Regions from separate parts of the Homo sapiens genome. Here region 2 is linked to region 1. The links are contacts of gene promoters, found by promoter capture Hi-C in blood cells and fetal thymus (Javierre and others, 2016). All regions are on one chromosome and are shown on one strand. The core of a region is centred on a gene start or on the middle of the fragment in contact, and the rest is flanking DNA. Distances in the headings are between cores, read along the strand shown. Region 1 holds the start of WASF3 (WASP family member 3). Region 2 has its middle 35 kb from the start of RNF6.

The links. Contacts are between HindIII fragments. The CHiCAGO score rates a contact against its expected background, and 5 or more counts as called.
Region 2: a fragment that was not itself captured here is called in contact with the fragment with the promoter of WASF3 in region 1 in 1 of 17 cell types (megakaryocytes); the score reaches 5.8 in megakaryocytes.

What each region holds. Positions count from the first base shown.
Region 1 is chr13:26,555,482-26,559,967 of GRCh38, reverse strand. WASF3 (WASP family member 3) reads right to left here and starts at 2,285. Exons shown (of 10, transcript NM_006646.6): 1 at 2,149-2,285. RefSeq lists silencers at 2,182-2,391, 2,652-2,711. The HindIII fragment of the contact is 3,016 bases long and covers 1,420-4,435 here.
Region 2 is chr13:26,184,640-26,189,125 of GRCh38, reverse strand. It overlaps a transcript of RNF6 not described here. Among named protein-coding and RNA genes, the nearest start is that of RNF6, 35 kb to the left of the region's middle. RefSeq lists enhancers at 2,712-2,761, 2,812-2,981. The HindIII fragment of the contact is 1,438 bases long and covers 1,549-2,986 here.

The DNA of each region.
Region 1 (4,486 bases), core at 1,036-3,535:
CGGGCGCCTGTACTCCCAGCTACTCGGGAGTCTGAGGCAGGAGAATCGCTTGAACCCAGGAGGCGGAGGTTGCAGTGAGCCGAGATCACACCACTGCACTCCAGTCTGGGAGACAAGAGCAAGACTCCGTCTCAAAAAAAAAAAAAAAAAAAAAAAAAAGAAAGAAAGAAAGAAAGAAAAGAAAAGAAAAAGAGATTCAAGGTCTACAGCAATGGAGAGCCACCCAAAGTGAAAAACAATCTGGGAGTACTCTTCAAAGAAAGTCCTTGGAATTCCAAAGACGATCACTAGTACTAGCCCGTGAGTAGGGACAATTCATTTAATACTTGCATTATAACGCAATTGTTTTAATCAAAACATCCCAATAACCAAAAGGTTACCTGCCATACATAGGTTTCTATGGGAACCGTAACGTGTGACTACAAAGACACACTGACAAGAGATAGGAGGTTACAATGTTGGCATGACCACTTAGCAAAGTGTGTTCCACCTTTGTTTTCGTAATTGTTGAAGATAGTGAAGCACATCATTGACTATTAGGTTGTAAATTTTAAAGCAAACAGATTTTTTAAAAACAAATGCTATTAAGCAACTTCATGTCAGCCAACTGGAAATGCAAGAACAATTTCTATATGTACATAGTTCTAGAATAAGCACAGGTTGGAAGGTAAATATAATAGTTGACCAAACTTTCCAATATTTAAACATGTGAAAAGACACAGCTTTTGTGAATACCAACTAAGAAAATCTTTCAAGATGAAGAAAAATGAGTACTACACTGAAGTCATTAGAACCCTGGGAGAAGGGAGCTGGAGAGGACACAATGAGAATGCCTTTGGGAAAGGTCAAACCCAGCTTTCGTTTGTTTAACCTCTCAAGCAGATAAAAGAACTAGCTTTAAAGAACCACTGCATTGTTTAACTGCTAGAAAAGGAGAGTTGGGTAAAGCACATATAAAAAGAAGCAATAGAATTTGCCCTAGAGACAATAGAAAGATTAGTCAATTACAATACTTTGAACTTAGTTTTGATAGAGTCGCATTTTAAGCTTTAGATAAACCTAATTTTTAAGATGCAAAATATTTCAAATAGCTATCCTCTCCCCCTTATAAAAAGTAGACTCTGAATCTTAAAATACCATGTTCTGCTATGCATTTAATTTGAAGAACTGCGAAAAGTAGTCTTTTTAATTTTCAGTTTTTGAAAACTCGAGACTGTTGCTGGAAGTAAACCGCTAATTTAAAAATTAACCTTAAAATGAGAAAGAATTCCTATGATGCTCCCATTGATCCCTAAGCCCATCACATAGTTTCTGAATAATTAAGAACTCTCGTCTCCACCAGGGAACTCTCCCTTGCAGAGGGGCCAAATCAAGAAGCAATCGCCATTGCACGTCAGCACCACAAACTGAGAGGAAGCTTCTGCCCTCGCTAAAGCCCAGGCGCGCGGGTAAAGACCCCCGGGGATGATACCCCGCGCGCCGCGGCTCCGTGCGCGCGGTCCCCCGCACTCGCGGGCCGCCCCACCTCCTCCCCTGCACTCCAAGAGTCCGGCCTGGTCTCCGAGGCCGGGAGCCACGCGGCACCGCAGCCTCGAGGGAGAGGACGCCCGCAACCAACACGCACGCGGGCACCAAGAGGGCACAGGCCAGGGCGGCGAGGGCCGAATGGGGCCGGGGGGCACGCGGAGCTGGACCAGAACCAGCGAGGGCGCGCAGACACTGAACGGATGCGAAGGTCCCGGACGCGGAGCGGCCCGGGGCGTCGTGCGTGGGGCGCGAGCGGAGGCCCGGGCGCCACTTACGGCGGGGAGGGCGGGTGGCTGTCCCGAGTCCAGGGAGCGCGCACCGGACGGCAAAGGGCCGGAGGCCCGGAGGCGCGGGAGAGAAGGGCCGCCTGGCCGCGCCGTGACGGCGAGAAGCCCCTGCCAGCGCGGGAGCCGGCCGGGAGAATGCGGCCGGGCTGCAGGGATAGGCGCGAGGCGGCGCCGCAGCCCGCAGTGGGCCCCGCCGCCCGGCCGGAGCGCGCGGCGATGCAGCAACTTCAGTTCGCCGTGGGGCCGCCCCTCCCCCGACAGCCGCCCGGCCCGGAGCCGAGAGGGCCACAGCAGCCTACAGCGGAGAGCCGGGGCGACCGCAGCCCTCACTCACCGGTCCGCGGTCCCGCCGCCGGCGCCGGGGCTGCGCTCTGAGCTCCATGGTCCCGCCGCGCCGCGGCCGCCCGGCGCACCCGCCTCGCACCACACCGCACGCAGCGGCGCGAGCGACGCCGCCTCCGGCCCGTCCACGGCCGCGGCCACGCCCCCTCCCGGCGGGGGGGCTCGGCCGGAGCAGGAGGGGGGCTCAGTGCCGGCTCCACCAACCAGGGCCAACTCACGGGGCCGCTTCACCAGGATTGGCGAGTGCCTCGGCCAATAGGGAGCCGGCGAGCGCGCTGAGCGACGGTGCCGAGGGGCGGGGGATTGCGGAGGCGGTGGCTCTCACCCTTGGTCCTCCGCCCCCAGCTCGGGATGAGGCTTAGGCAGCGTCCTTTCCAGCGAGGAGAGGTGGGGATACTTCGGGCCAAGAGACCCTTGTATCACCTCTGATTGCTAGGTGCCCATTACAGTACCTTTGAGTTTGCGCTTATATCCTAATCCTCCCTGGGTGTTGAGGGCTCCTGCACAGAGGTCCTCTACCTGTAAGGTGTCAGACGTCCTCCAGGGCTGAGGCTTCAGGCAACCCTGAGAGGACTGTAGCCCTGTTCATGGGTTGGTTTTATGCCCTGCTCAAATTCGTTAGCATTCTTAAAATCTTCCCATCTCCTTCAACACAGATTCTTCTGTTTTTATCACCCTATAACCAATCTCTCTCCACCCTAGATGTGAGGAAATCCACAATACTTATTAAAACTAAGATATCCCTGAAACTGCCAGCTAAGCCCTGCCACAGTGGAACATAGCCACGTGCGACCAGATGACTGAGGCATAAACAAACTTAAGAAAAAGAAAGGAGGAAAGGAAAGGAAGAGAAGAAAAGATAGAAAAGCCAAGATAGAAAAGCTAGGTCACAAAGGAAAGGGGTTTAAAAACATCTAATAGAAATGTTACCTTTATTTTAATTTGCATGCCTTTATTCTTTTTATTTACCAATAGGATCACTAAATTGAAAAACTTTTAGGAAAAAATTTTAAATTCTAATGAATAGTTCAAGAAACACTAATTCAAGTTGGTTTGCTCTTTTCTTTACAGATGTGTAATAATGATCAACATCTAGCTAGAGACAACTAAAAGTTGGAAAAAATGAATAGCAGTTAATAATTTCACCAAAGTTTGCAACACCAGAAATGCAGTAGAAAAATCATGCAGCCCTCTTCATAAAATGTCTAATCTATTAACCTGCATTACTTCCAAAGGAGGGATTTTAAAAGCTCTTTTTAAAGATGACGTATATTCAGTTTCCATAAAGTGCCATCATTTTAAAAAATTGCTGGTAATTAACAAGGTAAACAGGATTTTGGTGAATAATTACAGTGACCCAGTATTTTAAATATTGATACTAGAGTGACAAATGTCTGCTGAATTGAAAGCTAAATTGGCATTCAAATTAAAATGACTTTCCTTCATTTCATCTTCACTTACCCAGGGGAATGGCTTCCATGTCTATGTTTAGGTCATTAATTTAGAACTCAAAAATATGAAAGTATAGATACCCAGAGTGTTTTCAAGGTTGCTAATCATATTTCCCTGGCTGCTTCCCTCTTCGGTGACCCCAGCCTTATAAACCGCTGCTACACTTAGTTTGCACTCACTGTTAGCCCTTAAACACATCATCCCAAAGTGTTCAGGTTTGTTTCATATAGGTCAGTCTTACCTCTCTAATTAGATCATCAGTTCCATGAGGATAAGGCCCTTATTTTACAGTCCTCTTTCCTCCTTTTATAATGCCTAGTACAGTGCTGAGCATGTGGTAAATATGATTCTATTCCTAGTGTTGTGGTTCATGGTACAAATAAATTATTTCAAATATGGTCTTGTGTGAACCAGTCCTTTAAATAAAAACTGCTTAGAGCAGTCTTGTTAGAGGATTAGAGCCCACCGCTAATAAGTGCCTCATCCTTAATAAAATGTTGCTGCATCAGGGAGTGAATTGGTGACCTGTAACAGAATCTTGACTAAAAGTGCCTACTAAATAGGAGTGCTTCTTATCACAAAACCAGAAACCTGGAGACAGCCACAGGGCTTCTGTAATATCTCTTCTATGGTGTCGTTGTGTCTCAGGCTCTTTCTAGCCATTGTCTCTGCTATCCTTGTCATGTGATCTCTGTCTTCATCCTCACAGGATGCCTGCTTCCCTTGTAAGCATTGCATCACATTGAGGAAAATGGTAGGGGGATGGGTAAAGGGCAAAAGATCAAAGAGGTGCATGCCCAGTTGGGTCTGCATCTTCCTGGGAAGCTTTACCCAGCACCTTCTGCTTGCATTTTATTGGCCAGCCACATGTCACATGA
Region 2 (4,486 bases), core at 1,018-3,517, 370 kb after region 1:
AACTCCTGACCTCAGGTGATCCACCTGCCTCGGCCTCCCAAAGTGCTGGGATTACGGGCGTTAGCCACCATCCCTGGCTACTAGGAATATTTTGATTCTATCTTACATTTAAGAAAGCTCCCTCTTACTTCATGGGAGTGTAAGCCTTTGAGTCTACAATAATCAGTTTGCATACAACCTCTTCAGAAATCTGTTCTGAGCCGGGCGCAGTGGCTCATGCTTGTAATCCCATCACTTTGGGAGGCCAAGGTGGGCAGATCACGAGGTCAAGAGATTGAGACCATCCTGGCCAACATGTTGAAACCTCATCTCTACTAAAAATACAAAAATTAACCGGGCATGGTGGCATGTGCCTGTAGTCCCAGCTACTTGGGAGGCTGAGGCAGGATAAGTGCTTGAACTGAAGAGGCAGAGGTTGCAGTGAGCCGAGATCATGCCACTCCAGCCTGGCAACAGAGTGAGACTTCATCTCAAAAAAAAAAAAAAAAAAAAAAAAAAAAAAGCTCTTTTGACTTGTCCAACTAAAGCCCCCACTAAAAGGGAGAGAACAGCTGCAGCTTTCACCTAAACTCCCCTCAGTCTTCACTTCTGTGTGTCACCTGCTTCTGGCTTATGCAGTGACTGGAATTTTTGGTTATATTTGTTTTGGAAAGTAAAATGTAAATTCAGCCAGACTCTTGATAATTCCAGTAGTTATTCAACAGTGATCAGTGCGTTTTGACTACAGATTCACTGGTCTCAAGAGTCAGTTGCCCTTCCTCTGTGCCACAATTAAGTCCTTGTCTATGTCTGTCACAAGTGGGGTGGAGGATGGGGTAGAAGGGGAGGGATATTGTTATAATTGCCTCCCTTGCCACCATCAGCACTTCTCACCTGTCCTTGTGAACCACCAGTTTACACTTATAGAATCTAGTTTTGCATCAGCAATTGAGGTCACTTCGCCTTGGAGCCACTGCATCAATCTGAAAGTCTCCATGAGCCACAAGACAGTTGTGATGGTCTGGATGGCAGCCTGCAAATGAGCAGTTACACTCTCTAGAATTCCTAGACTATTAGGGCTGAAGGGACCTTGGATATTAACAGGTTCAAGTCCATTTCACCCAGATGATGAAACTGATGCCCAGACACCTACAGAATCTTGTTTTAGATCACTTGTTGACTTCTAGTTCTATTTTTTGACACCTAGTGTCCAGTGTGCTTTACACTTCAGGCCACTGTGGTCTCAAATAGAGCTAGGAACCAGGTGTGGTGGCACACGCCTGTAGTCCCAGCTAGTTGGGAGGCTGAGGCAGGAGGACTGCTTAAGCCCAACAGTTCAAGGCTGCAGTGAGCTAAGATTGCACCACTGCACTCCATCCTGGGCAACAGATAGAGACTGTCTTAAAAAACCCCCAAAATCAAATAGAGCTGGGGCTAAACATTTAATAAACTCCAGCCTCTGGAGTCCAAGAGATCTGCATTTGAATCCTGACTTTGCCACTGATTGGCAATAAGACCTTGGGTACGTTACTTAACCATTAACATACCCACTAAGTCACCCAATAAGCTTCCAGAACTTGGCCTAATCCCTGGGGAGGGGACCGCAGGAAGAACTAGGGTAATTTTTCTTTTATAACCAGTTCACCAGAGGGGGCCAGGGAAGGGTGGTCGTATGTAGCCCAGAGGAGTCAGAAATTCACCTGAAATCCAGAAAAGAGGCATTTTTCTTGCACACCAGAGCTCACGGGCTGACATTCTCACACTGGACATCCCAGTAAGCCTCCTGCTCCGCGATCCCCAAGGCCATCAGCCTTGCCTGACCTCCAAACGTTTCCCCCTTCTTGTGCCGGCTTAATTTTCCAGGGCTTTCCCCCTTTCTATTCGTCTCCTATCAGGTTCCCGGTCCGAAGGCTAGGACGCCCCACGTCGCAGCCAGGAGCAGAGGCGCCCAAGGTGGCGGTACAAGCCGTCTTCAGGCCTGTGGCCCCACTGATGGCAGAAACAGGAAGCGGGGACAGCCCCAGTCCCGGACCTCAGGCCAAGCAAGGCTCTAGAAAGGTCCCTGACGCTTGCCGGGCGCGGTGGCTCATGCCTGTAATCTCAGCACTTTGGGAGGCCGAGGTGGGTGGATCACGAAGTCAGGAGATCGAGACCATCCTGGCTAACACGGTGAAACCCCGTCTCTACTAAAAATACACAAAATTAGCCGGGCGTGGTGGCGGGCGCCTGTAGTCCCAGCTACTCGGGAGGCTGAGGCAGGAGAATGGCGTGAACCTGGGAGGCGGAAATTGCAGTGAGCCGAGATCGCGCCACTACACTCCAGCCTGGGCGACAGAACGAGACTCCGTCTCAAAAAAAGAAAAAAAAAAAAAGAAGAAGAAAGGTCCCTGACGCTTCCCTGCCCTCCCCGGAGCCGGCGCTCTAGCGCCCCCGGGATCGACGGTCAGCACAGCGAAGGAACGCGCTACCTGTGGCCGAAGGTATAGCGCCGCTGCGGGCCCTGTGAGAGCTGAGAAGACGACGGCGGCCGAGGAGGCCCAATTCCGAGGCTCGGCCCCGTCAGGGTCCGCGCTGGCGGTGTGCGCGTGTACGTGCGCTCGTGCACGTGCATGTGTGTGCGCGCGCCCTAACAGACCTGCTCCGAAGCGTCTCCGCTGACTGCCAGTCGGTAGCGCGACTGGCTGCGGGGCCCACGTGCCACGCAGACGCCCCCCGGCGCGTCCCGCTCTTGCTCTGCGGCCCAACGAGCGCGTTCCTGCCGCGGGACAGCCTTGCAGAGAAACGCGGTCTTACACACGCACTGGCCTCCCGGTCTGGGTTTTTAACTGCTCAAAGCTCCACGCGCCCTGGCGTCTCCACACGGCACTCCAGATGTGTCAGATTTCCAGAAATGTTTTGATCGCTTGCTTTCACTTCTCTTTTTAAGATCTGTTTTTGAACTTTTCCTCTGCGTTGTGTGTATCATGACTCTGACACGTTTTAGGGCCGCGAGGCGGGTGATGAAGCTTTGACATGGGCGCCTTGGTGAATGACCTGAATTCTTACTCCCGAGTAAATCGTCTGACTGGCTTCCCTATCGCATTTTAGGGTTAAAACATACATTTTGTGTTTGTTTCATATCTATGTTTATGTAGACTGCAAGTTTCATAAGGGCACGGGGTGGGAGGGGCTATGGCTCTTTTGCCTCTTACTGTATTTTCAGAACCTAGCAGAAGCTAGGACATAGTGTGTGTTCTCTAAATAGATATTGAATGTGAGGGAGGAAGGAACTTTCCAGAAGTGTGACCTTTGGTTTTGGAAAGGCACAAGGTTCGTAGTTAGGCGTAGAGAACACAAGTTTAGAATCATGGCCTCTACACTTCTGTTGACAATGCATTACTTTAAGTAACAACTTTTTTTTGAGACAGGGTTTCGCTCGTTTTGCCCAGGCTGGAGTGCAGTGGCACGATCTCGGCTCACTGCAACCTCCGCCTCCCGGGTTCAAGCGATTCTCCTGCCTCAGCCTCCCAAGTAGCTGTGATAACAGGCGCCTGCCACCACGCCAGGCTAATTTTTTGTATTTTTAGTAGAGACGGGGTTTCACCATGTTGGCCAGGATAGTCTCGATCTCTTGACCTCGTGATCCGCCCACCTCGGCCTCCCAAAGTGCTGGGATTACAGGCGTGAGCCACTGTGCCCAGCCAAGTAACAACTTTTTTTAAAAAAAATGCACTTCAAATGTATATGTATATGTATTTATTTATAAGTTATAAAAATGTAATGCATGCTCATATATATATTTATGTATTATTACAAAGAGCACACCAAATAGAAATTTTAAAAAGCTAAAATAAAAATAATACCTTGGTCGGGGATGATGGCTCATGCCTGTAACTCCAGCACTTTTGGAGGCCGAGGCGGTCAGATAGCTTGAGCCCATTAGTTCGAGACCAGCGTGGGCAGCATAGTGAGATCCCATCTGTACAAAAAATAATTTGAAAAAATTAGCCGGGCATGGTGGTGTGCGCCTGTTGTCCCAGCTGCTTGGGAGGCTGAGGTGGGAGAATGGCTTGATCCTGGGAAGTTGAGGCTGCAATGAACCGTGTTTGTGCCACTTCACTACAGCTTGGGGTGGCTGAGTGAAATCCTGTCTTAATAGTCAATCAATCAATCAATCAATAAAATGATAACAATACCTACAAGTTCTAAAATAATTTCCTGCAGCGCACTTTGGAGCTCACTAGGTAGACAGTTTGTAGGGAGAGGGCTGCCCTCTACTGGTGGAGGGCAGCTAAGGACATTTGCTTTGGATCGCCTGCCTTCTGCAGGAGTCCACAGATTTATCCTTTGTGGCCTGCACAGTGTGTATGCTTAGCATTCAATCTACGTTATTTTCACTCATAGAAAATGTAAGGTGAGGCATTGTTTTAAGCCAGAACAGCTTTAAAAGGCAGAGATACTCGTATTGTGCAGTCATTATGGACCAGGAAACGTTGAAACATCTGCGAGTAGAAGTGACTCAAAACTG